Regions from separate parts of the Homo sapiens genome. Here region 2 is linked to region 1. Evidence: promoter capture Hi-C in 16 types of primary human blood cells and fetal thymus (Javierre and others, 2016). All regions are on one chromosome and are shown on one strand. Each heading gives the region's core, a stretch centred on a gene start or on the middle of the fragment in contact. The rest is flanking DNA. Distances are from core to core; before and after follow the strand shown.

Region 1 (4,800 bases), core at 2,230-4,729:
TTAGGGTGATGGGAAAATATTAATATGAAAGATGGTTATTTAGGGAAGTTTCTAATAACATATATCAAAGCTAATTCTCCAACTATTTTTAGGTAAGCATCTGACTAAGTGATAAAATGATTGAAGTGCTCGTGCATGGAGCCCAAGAATTTCCATCCGTCTACTGAGGATATTTAATATTAATATGCCCCAAGAGAGTGTAGTCATTATGATCACAGAAATATGCTCATTTTAAAATTTTTGATAATTAACTTTTTCTTTAATGGTAGTCCAGGGTCATAAATTAAACATAATATATTACTTGATAACTATTAGTAACTTTTAAAAAAATTTGATCAATAGCAAATTAATAACTTTAAAAGTGATCCCAGAGCAAATCTATATTAATTCTAAGCAGTCTAGTTGAAATCACTTTTATCTATCCAAGAACATTATAGACATATGCATAAGACTATGAACTTCATAAGAAAAGTCAAAATGAGATCAGATGATGGCGATGTCTTGGTTTAAAAGCAAACATTTAAAAAATTTGTACCCACCCCCAATTTATTTTACAAAATATTTGATTGGGTTACATAAATATGTAAAGGTAATGGAGTCAAATGCTAAAGTAATGCCGGATAATGCAAAAATCCAACTACTAGTCTCGAACACTTTGGAAGCCACAAACCAGCAATCAAACTGGTGTTTAATGACTATAACTCTGCAAGAAGCATTTGTTTTTAATTAAATATAGATAATCTTGGAGCTTATAATCTTAGAGAAAAAATATGAATACTCAATAATTGATAAAGGAGACTTAAAATAGATGTGTGTTGTGGCTACAATTAAAAGGAGTAGATATGAGTAACCACATAGGAACAGCTTCAGTGGTTGACCAATGGTTGTACTTGGGATAAAATGGCAAAGAAGCCACTGTCCTAGGGTCAGAAGATAGTCGTGGGGTAGATTCTCTTTAGGGAAATAAGACATAGACTTTTAGTGCACAGTGCTAAACGTATGTTTATACAGTGAATTTCTTTGTTTTCTGTAAAATATTTTATAAAATCTGTATCCTTAGAAGCAGGTATTTAGAATGATTTGTAGAATATCAAAATAATTTTATAACAGTATATTGTTTACAGGTAAATTGACATTATAGTAAAATTAAAATATGATAACCTAAGAAAATCTTATTTTATCATTATCTCTTCTTACAGTTAGAAATCCAAGCCCCTCCTGGTACTATAGTTGGTTACGTTACGCAGAAGTGGGACCCCTTTCTGCCTAAATTCACAATCCAAAATGCAAACAAAGAAGATATTTTGAAAATTGTTGGTCCTTGTGTGACATGTGGCTGTTTTGGCGATGTGGATTTTGAGGTACAATTGACAAAATGAAAGAAGTTTTCATTTAGGTCCTGATTTTTTTTTGCAACATAATTCAATTTTTTTATGTTCAAATTAATTTCATTTAAAATAAGTTCAGAAAATGACATATTTGTAATATAATGTAATCAGCCCATATTGTACATGCTAAGAATAGGAATATGTAAATCCAGAGATATAAAGTCCAAGGATTTTTTAAAAATAATATTACAAAATTTATCACCTTGGCCATCATATCTGTCATAGACCAGTGTAAGTATTATCCAAAGTAATATTAATAAATTTTACTATAATAAAAGCATGTTTAGCTAAATATAATTCTATGTGTTCTATGGACAAAGCTACTATATCTCTTTGATTAGAATAGTAAATGTGTTGCTATTTTAATGTGTGCAAGACTTTGAACATCAAAAATTTTTGGACACATAGCTTTGCCTTTTTAAGATAACCAATATTTCCTGATTTTGAAAATTAGCACTTCATTCTTGTTTCAGTATGTTTTATTTATGTAGAATCACAGGACACATGGCAATAAAGCCAATATATACAGTTTAGAATCACCTAAATTATGTATCTTCTTTCCTATGGGCCTTGAGATCACATATCCCAGTTTAGATCTCATTTCAGCAGCACGTTACATTAAAACAGCATTAACTCAAAAGCTGTGTTTCTAAGACTTGCTAAGTTAGTTTTGTAAAAAAAACAAAAAAAAAAAACAAAAAAAAACCTTATTCTCGTATTTGTATAAATTGAATATTTAAAAAATAGAAAGTTGTAAATTTGATCTGTAGCAATATAAACTATCTTAACAGGTTGTCCTGGACATACAACTTAGGTAGAGGAGACAGCCTAATTGAAAGTGTATATTTATTTTTCATCCATTCATACATAAATATCTCAGCAAGGGCATTTAGTTCTCAGGACTTCAGGAAACACTATGCACGTAGAATACAATGCAAATTTTGCAAACTGAGCTGTTCCAACTTCACCCTATCCCCAAAGGATTTGGCATGACTTTCCTACGAGTAATATGATTGAGGAGGACTTTAAACATAAGAGTTTTAGCATTCATGCTATAGAAATGTCCTAAGTAACCCTCTCTATTCTCTATCTTTTACTACCCTGAAAAAAGTGATAGTTTCTCTTGAATTACTTTCAGCATCAGGATGGGAAGCAGAATAAACAAACAAATAGCTGATAAAGTTGATTTGTGAACTCCTTCTAGCTGAGAAGGACTGATTGATGTCTAGTTGGTCTTAACTTCCTATATGGTACATTAACCAGGAGGATTTTTTTAATGTAAAAATAGGATTTAGGATTTGTTAGAAAGTATTGACCTAATAAATGTCTGAGTATAATATAAAAATGTGATTTAACAATGGCCAATAATATTTAAATGTTTTAATAATTATAAAATTTTAGCAACTGAAATTTGAAAGTTTACAAATTATGCCTAGAAATTAATTTAATTCCTTCTGAAATATTTTTTCAAACATATCTTCTTTTACATTTTTAAGATGGAGAATTCAGGTTTAAAATCTGGACCTCAAGTAAAGAAATCGCCTTCATGCTTAGATGATACAATTGAACTATGTACCTGCTGCCATCTTGTGGTGGCTGAGCCTTAATTATTTATCCTGATATTCTCCATCTGCATACAAAAAAGAAAAAGAATTATGATGGACTAGAAAACTGTCAAAAAAGCAAAGTTTCTAAAAAGTAAACTGAAAAGCTAAATTTACAAACCTATGCTTATATGATGGAATGAATAACATGGAATTGTCATTTTGAAGATGACAAATAAAATAATTCAAATCTCTCATGAAGTAAACACCCTCAGAAGTATAAAACCAACTTTTTTCACTGTCAAATTTAATACTCCTTATTTTCTTTCTAAAGGTGAAAACCATTAATGAAAAGCTTACAATTGGGAAGATTTCAAAGTACTGGTCAGGATTTGTAAATGATGTCTTCACAAATGCTGACAATTTCGGAATTCATGTTCCTGCAGATCTAGATGTAACAGTCAAAGCAGCAATGATCGGTGCCTGTTTTCTCTTTGTAAGTATGGGCTTTGAGAGCATGAGTGATTTGTTATTCTCCCTCTTGCTTGTTAATTACAATATAGCCTATCCCATTTACACAGTTTTTACCCCCAAAGAGTATATTTTATTCATAGAAGGATAGCTTAGGACCAATGTTCTTCAAAAATTAGAATTTAGAACCCTGCATTTCTGTTAGGCAGCCCCTCTTCAGTGATCTCATATCCCCTTTCTCAAAGATTGAAGTGTTATCACATCCTATTCATCATTTCTTTAAAACCTAGTTTCCCCTTGCTTTTACGTTCAATTTAGATTTTTGGCTTATTTTCACTTGAACTAAAAAATATGCAAACATAAATATCACATGATTTATCCTGGATAAAGTTCCAGACTGGTTCATTGCATAATAGTGAGCTAGATGATATTAAGAATGTTGCCTTCTCAGTGTGAACATAGACACATGAAATGATTTGATGAGTTAATAGGTACCAGTTGCCATTATTTCTAAGATACTATGTTCTTGTTATTACTTTCCAACTTACAATTATATTGAAAACCTTTTCTTCTTTGGTATATGGAGATTGGTGATAGAAGAACAGAAGTCAAATAATACCTGTATCAAAATGCTTGACCTATATCCTGTTCTTAGTTTTCCCTCTAATATTTACCTAATTTCCTACCATTTTCAATGCAGCCATAAAAACTTATGGAGTTTTTATTTGTTGATATATAAACACATGTATTTTCTATAAATACATGAAAAAGATGTGTATACACAGGCACACACATAAGTGATTAAAACAAACAGCATAAGAGTTGAGAGTAGGTTGCAGACATGATGCCTTTTCCCCTAATTATATTAGTGTGCATTTCCTAAAAACAAGGAATTTTTTTACACATCACAGTACTATTGTCAAAGTCAGGCACTAAACACTGATTCAATGCTATTATCTAATCTACAGACTTTATTCGGTTTGCACTGATTTGCATAATGATGTCCTTTCTGACAATAGAAAATCCAAGATCATGAAGTATGTCCATTTTGTCACATCTCATTTGTTTCTTTTCACCTGGAACTGTTCCTAAGGGGTGTGTGTGTGTGTATATGTGTGTGCATGAACATGTGCACATGCATGTGCATTTCCCTGAGTCTCATGACATTGGCATTTTTGTTTTTGTTTTATTTTTTGTTCTATTTTTTGAGATAGAGTCTCACTCTGTCACCCAGGCTGGAGTGCAGTGGCGCAATCTTGGCTCACCACAACCTCTGCCTCCCAGGTTCAAGCGATTCTCCTGCCTCAGCCTCCCGAGTAGCTGGGATTACAGGCATGTGCCACCATACCCGGCTAATTTTTTTGTATTTTTAGTAGAGATGGGGTTTCACTGTGTTA
Region 2 (5,231 bases), core at 2,192-4,691, 540 kb after region 1:
TTGGCATTTACCAGGAAACAAATGGTATTGAATATCTTTAATGTGTTCATTAGTCATTTGTATTTCTTCCTCAGTGAAGTGCCTATGTAAGTCTTTTGCCAATTTTTAAATTGGGTGTTTTTTCTTATTATTGAGTTGTTGAAATTGCTCATATATACAGTTGTCTCTGACTATCCATGGATGAATAGATCCAGGACTTCCCACAGATACCAAAATCCACAAATGCTCAAGTCCTTCAAATAAAATGGCATAGTATGTGCATATAAACTATGTACATCTTCATGTATACTTTAAATCATCTCAGGATTACTTACAATATCTAATAGAGAGTAAATGCTGTGAAATAGTTGTTATACTGTATTTTATAGGGAATAATGATAAGAAAAAAATCTGTACATGTTTAGTAAACATACAATTAAAAAATTCTTTTGGCTTGTGGTTGGTTGATTCCATGAATGTAGAACCGATGAATAAAGAGGTCTGACTGTAGTGTAAATGTTTTCTTCTACTCTACGGCTTTCCCATTCAATTTCTCAGTAGTACCTTTTAATGAGCAGAAATGTGAACCTTGATGACATCAATTGTATCGATTATTTTAATGCTTAATAGTCAATAGTTAAAAATGTTAATTTTTAATAGTTTAGGATAATTAATTCTAGATCTTGTTTTAGAAATCTTTGCCTACCCAAAGTTTATGAAGACATTCTGTTATGCTTTCTACTAGCAACTCTATAGTTTTATTTTTTTTACATTTAAATCTATAATCTATCACAAATTAATTTTTCTGTATGGTGTGAGGGATGGGTGGAGGCAAATTGTTTTCCTCATATAATACTGATTTTTTTTTAACTACTGAAGGAATTTCTTGGTTATCTGCAATCTTTGCCTAACATAATACTAATTAGATTACTTAACAATGGTGGCAGAAGAGTGCACAGTTACCCTAAGGTCACAGTAGCCCTTCAGTGTCAGCCAATTGGGGCCTTGCCTGAAGGCTGGTGCAGGGTTGCTTAATATTATATTTTTTAAATTATTTTTTAAAGAAGCAGAAATTCAAATACAAGTAAAATTATTTCGTTATTTGCTGACAGTTACTTTTCTTTCTTCAGGCCAACACAGAAGAAACTCAGATTTATATTATGAGGGCAATTTTCAAATTTCTGCTTAGACTATTGACTGAAGGCAATTGTCACTATTTCTTTATGGTTACAAAGAAGAAATGATTAGGCCATCATAAGGTGGACTCTAGAAACAAAGCCTATTAAGTATGTCTTGGATATAAGTTTATAGACACCCACATCTTAGCTGGACACAAAATTTGTTTAACTAAACAGTTATCCAAATGGTTTTCCCAGTGGAAAATAATTGTTTTTCGTTTGTTGTTGTTTTAGAGATAACTTGGCCAGAGTCAACATTTCCTCATATTCCCTATTCGCATTGATTTGTGTTTGAAAATTTAAATTATAGTCATTGGTGGTAATTCAGAAATCATCAGAAATACCCAAGGCCCTGTTCAAACCATGAAACTAGAAATTAATTTGTACATTCATTCACCAAATATCAATTATTGAATACCTTCTCTGTGTCAGGCACATGCTAGGCATAGACATTTAACAGTTAAGCAGAACCAAAACAAAAAACAGGATCTGTGATCACACAGATTGATTTTTAAGTTGTGATTAAGAGATGATATGGTTTGGCTCTATGTCCTCACCCAAATCTCATGTCAAATTGTAATTCCCATGTGTTGGAGGAGGGGTCTGATGAGAGGTGATTGAATCTTGGTGGTAGATTTCCCTCTTGCTGTTCTTGTGATAATGAGTGAGTTCTCATGAGATCTGCTTGTTTAAAAGTATGTTGCACGCCAGACGTGATGGTTCACGCCTGTAATCCCAGCACTTTGGGAGGCCGAGGCTGGTGGATCACCTGAGGTCGAGAGCTCGAGACCAGCCTGACCAACATGGAGAAACCCCGTCTCTACTAAAAATACAAAGTTAGCAGGGCGTGGTGGGGCATACCTGTAATCCCAGCTATTTGGGAGGCTGACGCAGGAGAATCACTTGAACCCGGGAGGCAGAGGTTGTGGTGAGCTGAGATCATGCCATTGCACTCCAGCCTGGGCAACAAGTGTGAAACTCCATCTCAAATAAATAAATAAATAAATAAATAAATAAATAAATAAATAGTGTGTTGCACTTTCCCCTTTGCTCTCTCTCCTGCCCTGCCATGAGAAGACATGCTTGCTTCCCCTTCTCTTTTCTTGTAAGTTTTCTGAGGCCTCCCAGCCATGCTTCTTGCATAGCCTGCAGAATTGTGAGTCAATTAAACCTCTTTTCTTTATAAACTACCCAGTCTCAGACAGTTCTTTTAGCAAGGTGAGTAAGAACTATTACAGAAAATTTGTACCGAGAGTGGAGTATAAAGACACCTGAAAATGTAGAAGTGACGTTGGAACTGGATAATGGGGAAGTGTTGGAACAGTTCAGAGAGATAAGAAAATGACAGGAAGATGAGGAAATGTTTGGAACTTCCTGGAGACTTGTTGAATGGCTGTGACCATAATGCTAATAGTGATATGGACAGTGAAGTCTAGGCTGAGGTGGTCTTAGGTGGAGATGGGGAACTTATTGGGAACTTGAGTAAAGGTCACTCTTGCTATGCTTTAGCAAAGAGACTGGCAGCATTGTACCCCTGCTTTAGGGATCTATGGAACTTTGAACTTAAAGAGAAGATTTAGGGTATCTGGTAGAAGACATTTCTAAGCAGCAAAGCATTCAAGAGTTGACCTGGTTGATGCTGAAAGCATTCAGTTATATGTGCTCACAAACAGAGCCTGACCATGTGGTAGAAAAGAAAATCCCATTTTCTGGGGCCAGGCCCAAGGCCCCGTTGCTCTGTACAGCCTTGGGACATGGCACCCTGTGTCCCAGCCACTCCAACTCCAGCTATGGCTAATAGGGACCAAGGTACAGCTTGGGTCATGACTTCAGAGGGGGCAAGTCCCAAGCCTTGGCAGCTTCCACATGGTGTTGGGCCTGTGGTGTGCAGAAGGCAAGAGTTGGAGTTTGGGAGCCTTTGCCTAGATTTCATAGGATGTACAGAAACACCTGCATATCCAGGTAGAAATCTGCTGCAAGGGTGGAGACCTCATGAAGAACCTCTACTAGGGCAGTGCAGAGGGGAAATGTGAGGTTGGAGCCTCCATGCAGACTCCCCACTGGGGCAGTGCCTAGTAGAGCTGTGAGAAGAGAGCCACTGTCCTTCAGATTCCTGAATGATGGTTCAACCAACAGCTTGCACTATGTGTCTGGAAAAGCCATACGCACCGAACACCATCCTGTGAAAGCAGCTGTGGTGGCTGTACCCTGAAGAGCCATAGGGGAAGAGCTGCCCAAGGCCGTAGGAGCCCACCCCTTACATAAGCATGCCCTGGATGTAAGACATGGACTGAAAGGAGATTATTTTGGAGCTTTAAGATTTAATGAGTTTCCTGCTTGGTTTTGGACTTGTATGGGGCCTGTAACCCCTTTGTTTTGGCCAATTTCTCCCTTTTGGAATGGGAGAAATTTACCCAATGCCTCTACCCCCCTTGTATCTTTGAAGTAACTAACTTGTTTTTTATTTTACAGGCTCATAGGCAGAAGAGACTTGCTTTGTCTCAGATGAGACTTTGGACTTGGATTTTGAGTTAATGCTGAAATGAGTTAAGACCTGGGGGACTATTGGGAAGGCATGATTCTGTTTTGAAATGTGAGAAGGACATGAGATTTGGGAGGAGCCATGGTGGAATGATATGGTTTGGTTCTGTGTCCCCACACAATTCTCATGTCAAATTGTCATTCCCATGTTTTAGAGGAGAGGGTCTCATGGGAGGTGATTGAATCATGGGGGCAGATTTTCCTCTTGTCGTTCTCAAGATACTGAGTGAGTTTTCACAAGATCTTGTGGTTTAAAAGTGTGTAGCCTTTCCCCCTTTGTTCTCTCTCCTGCTTTGCCATTGTAAGACATACTTGCCTCTCCTTCTCCTTCTGCTGTAACTGTTAAGTTTCCTGAGGTCTCCCAGCCATGTCTCCTTTACAATCTGCAGAACTGTAAGTCAATTAAACCTCTTTTCTTTATAAACTACCCAGTCTCAGGTATTTCTTTATAGCCATTTGAGAATGGAGTAATGCAAGAGATTACACCTAGCTCAAATTTCAGTTTATATACTCAACTGTTACTCCACATCTCCACTTAGATCTACAATGGACATCTCAAACCTATCATATCCCCAATTGAATTCTTGATATTCTGCTTCTAAATCTGGCCTTTTGATAATCATCCTTGTCTCATAATACAGTAGTATCCCTTATCCATAGCCTCACTTTCAGTGGTTTCAGATACCTTCAGCAAACTGTGGTCTGAAAATATTAAATGGAAAATGCTAATAATACCACTTCATAAGTTTTAAATTGCACACAGTTCTGAATTGTGTGATAAAATCTCACACCATCCCACTCTGTCCTAACTGGAATGTGAATCATTGCTTTGTTCAGCATATTCTTGCTGTGCACACCACCTGCCTATTAGTCACTTACTGCCCAGCTTGTTGAGTATCACTGTATCACTGTGTTCTGTTCAATTAGCCCTTATTTTAATTAATAATGGCCTCAAAGCACAAGAGTAATGATGCTGACAACTTGGATACACTAAAGAGAAACTGTATTGTGCTTCCTTTAAGTAAAAAGATGAAGTCTCTTGAATTAAGGAAAGCAAAAAAGAAAAAAAAAAAGAAAAAAGTTGTATGCTGAGGTTGGTAAGATCTAAGGTAATTAACATGGTTTGGCTGTGTCCCCACCCAAATCTCATCTTGAATTGTAACTCCCACAATTCTCACATGTTGTGGGAGGAACCTGGTGGGAGGTGATTGAATTATGGGAGTGGGTCTTTCCTGAGCTGTTCTCATGAAAGTGAATGAGTCTCATGAGATCTGATGGTTTTAAATACAGGAGTTTCCCTGCACAAGCTCTCTCTTTGTCTGCTACCAACCACGTAAGATATGACTTGCTCCTCCTTGCTTTCCCCCAAGATTGTGTGGCCTCCTCAGCCATGTGGAACTCTAAGTCCATTAAAACTCTTTTTCTTCCCAGTCTTGGGAATGTCTTTATCAGCAGCATGAGAACAGACTAATACAGTAAATTGGTACCAGTAGAGTGGGGCATTGCTGTAAAGATACCAGAAAATGTGGAAGT

The links. The method cuts DNA at HindIII sites, captures the fragments that hold promoters and counts their contacts. A CHiCAGO score of 5 or more calls a contact.
Region 2: a fragment that was not itself captured here is called in contact with the fragment with the promoter of PLSCR5-AS1 in region 1 in 1 of 17 cell types (monocytes); the score reaches 5.2 in monocytes.

Annotation. Positions count from the first base shown.
Region 1 is chr3:146,588,281-146,593,080 of GRCh38, reverse strand. PLSCR5-AS1 (PLSCR5 antisense RNA 1) reads right to left here and starts at 3,479. Exons shown (of 2, transcript NR_046698.1): 1 at 3,293-3,479; 2 at 2,756-3,018. PLSCR5 (phospholipid scramblase family member 5) reads left to right here. Exons shown (of 8, transcript NM_001085420.2): 5 at 1,200-1,361; 6 at 3,267-3,428. The HindIII fragment of the contact is 1,724 bases long and covers 3,290-4,800 here.
Region 2 is chr3:146,043,548-146,048,778 of GRCh38, reverse strand. No RefSeq gene overlaps it. Among named protein-coding and RNA genes, the nearest start is that of LNCSRLR, 23 kb to the left of the region's middle. The HindIII fragment of the contact is 9,546 bases long and covers 1-5,231 here.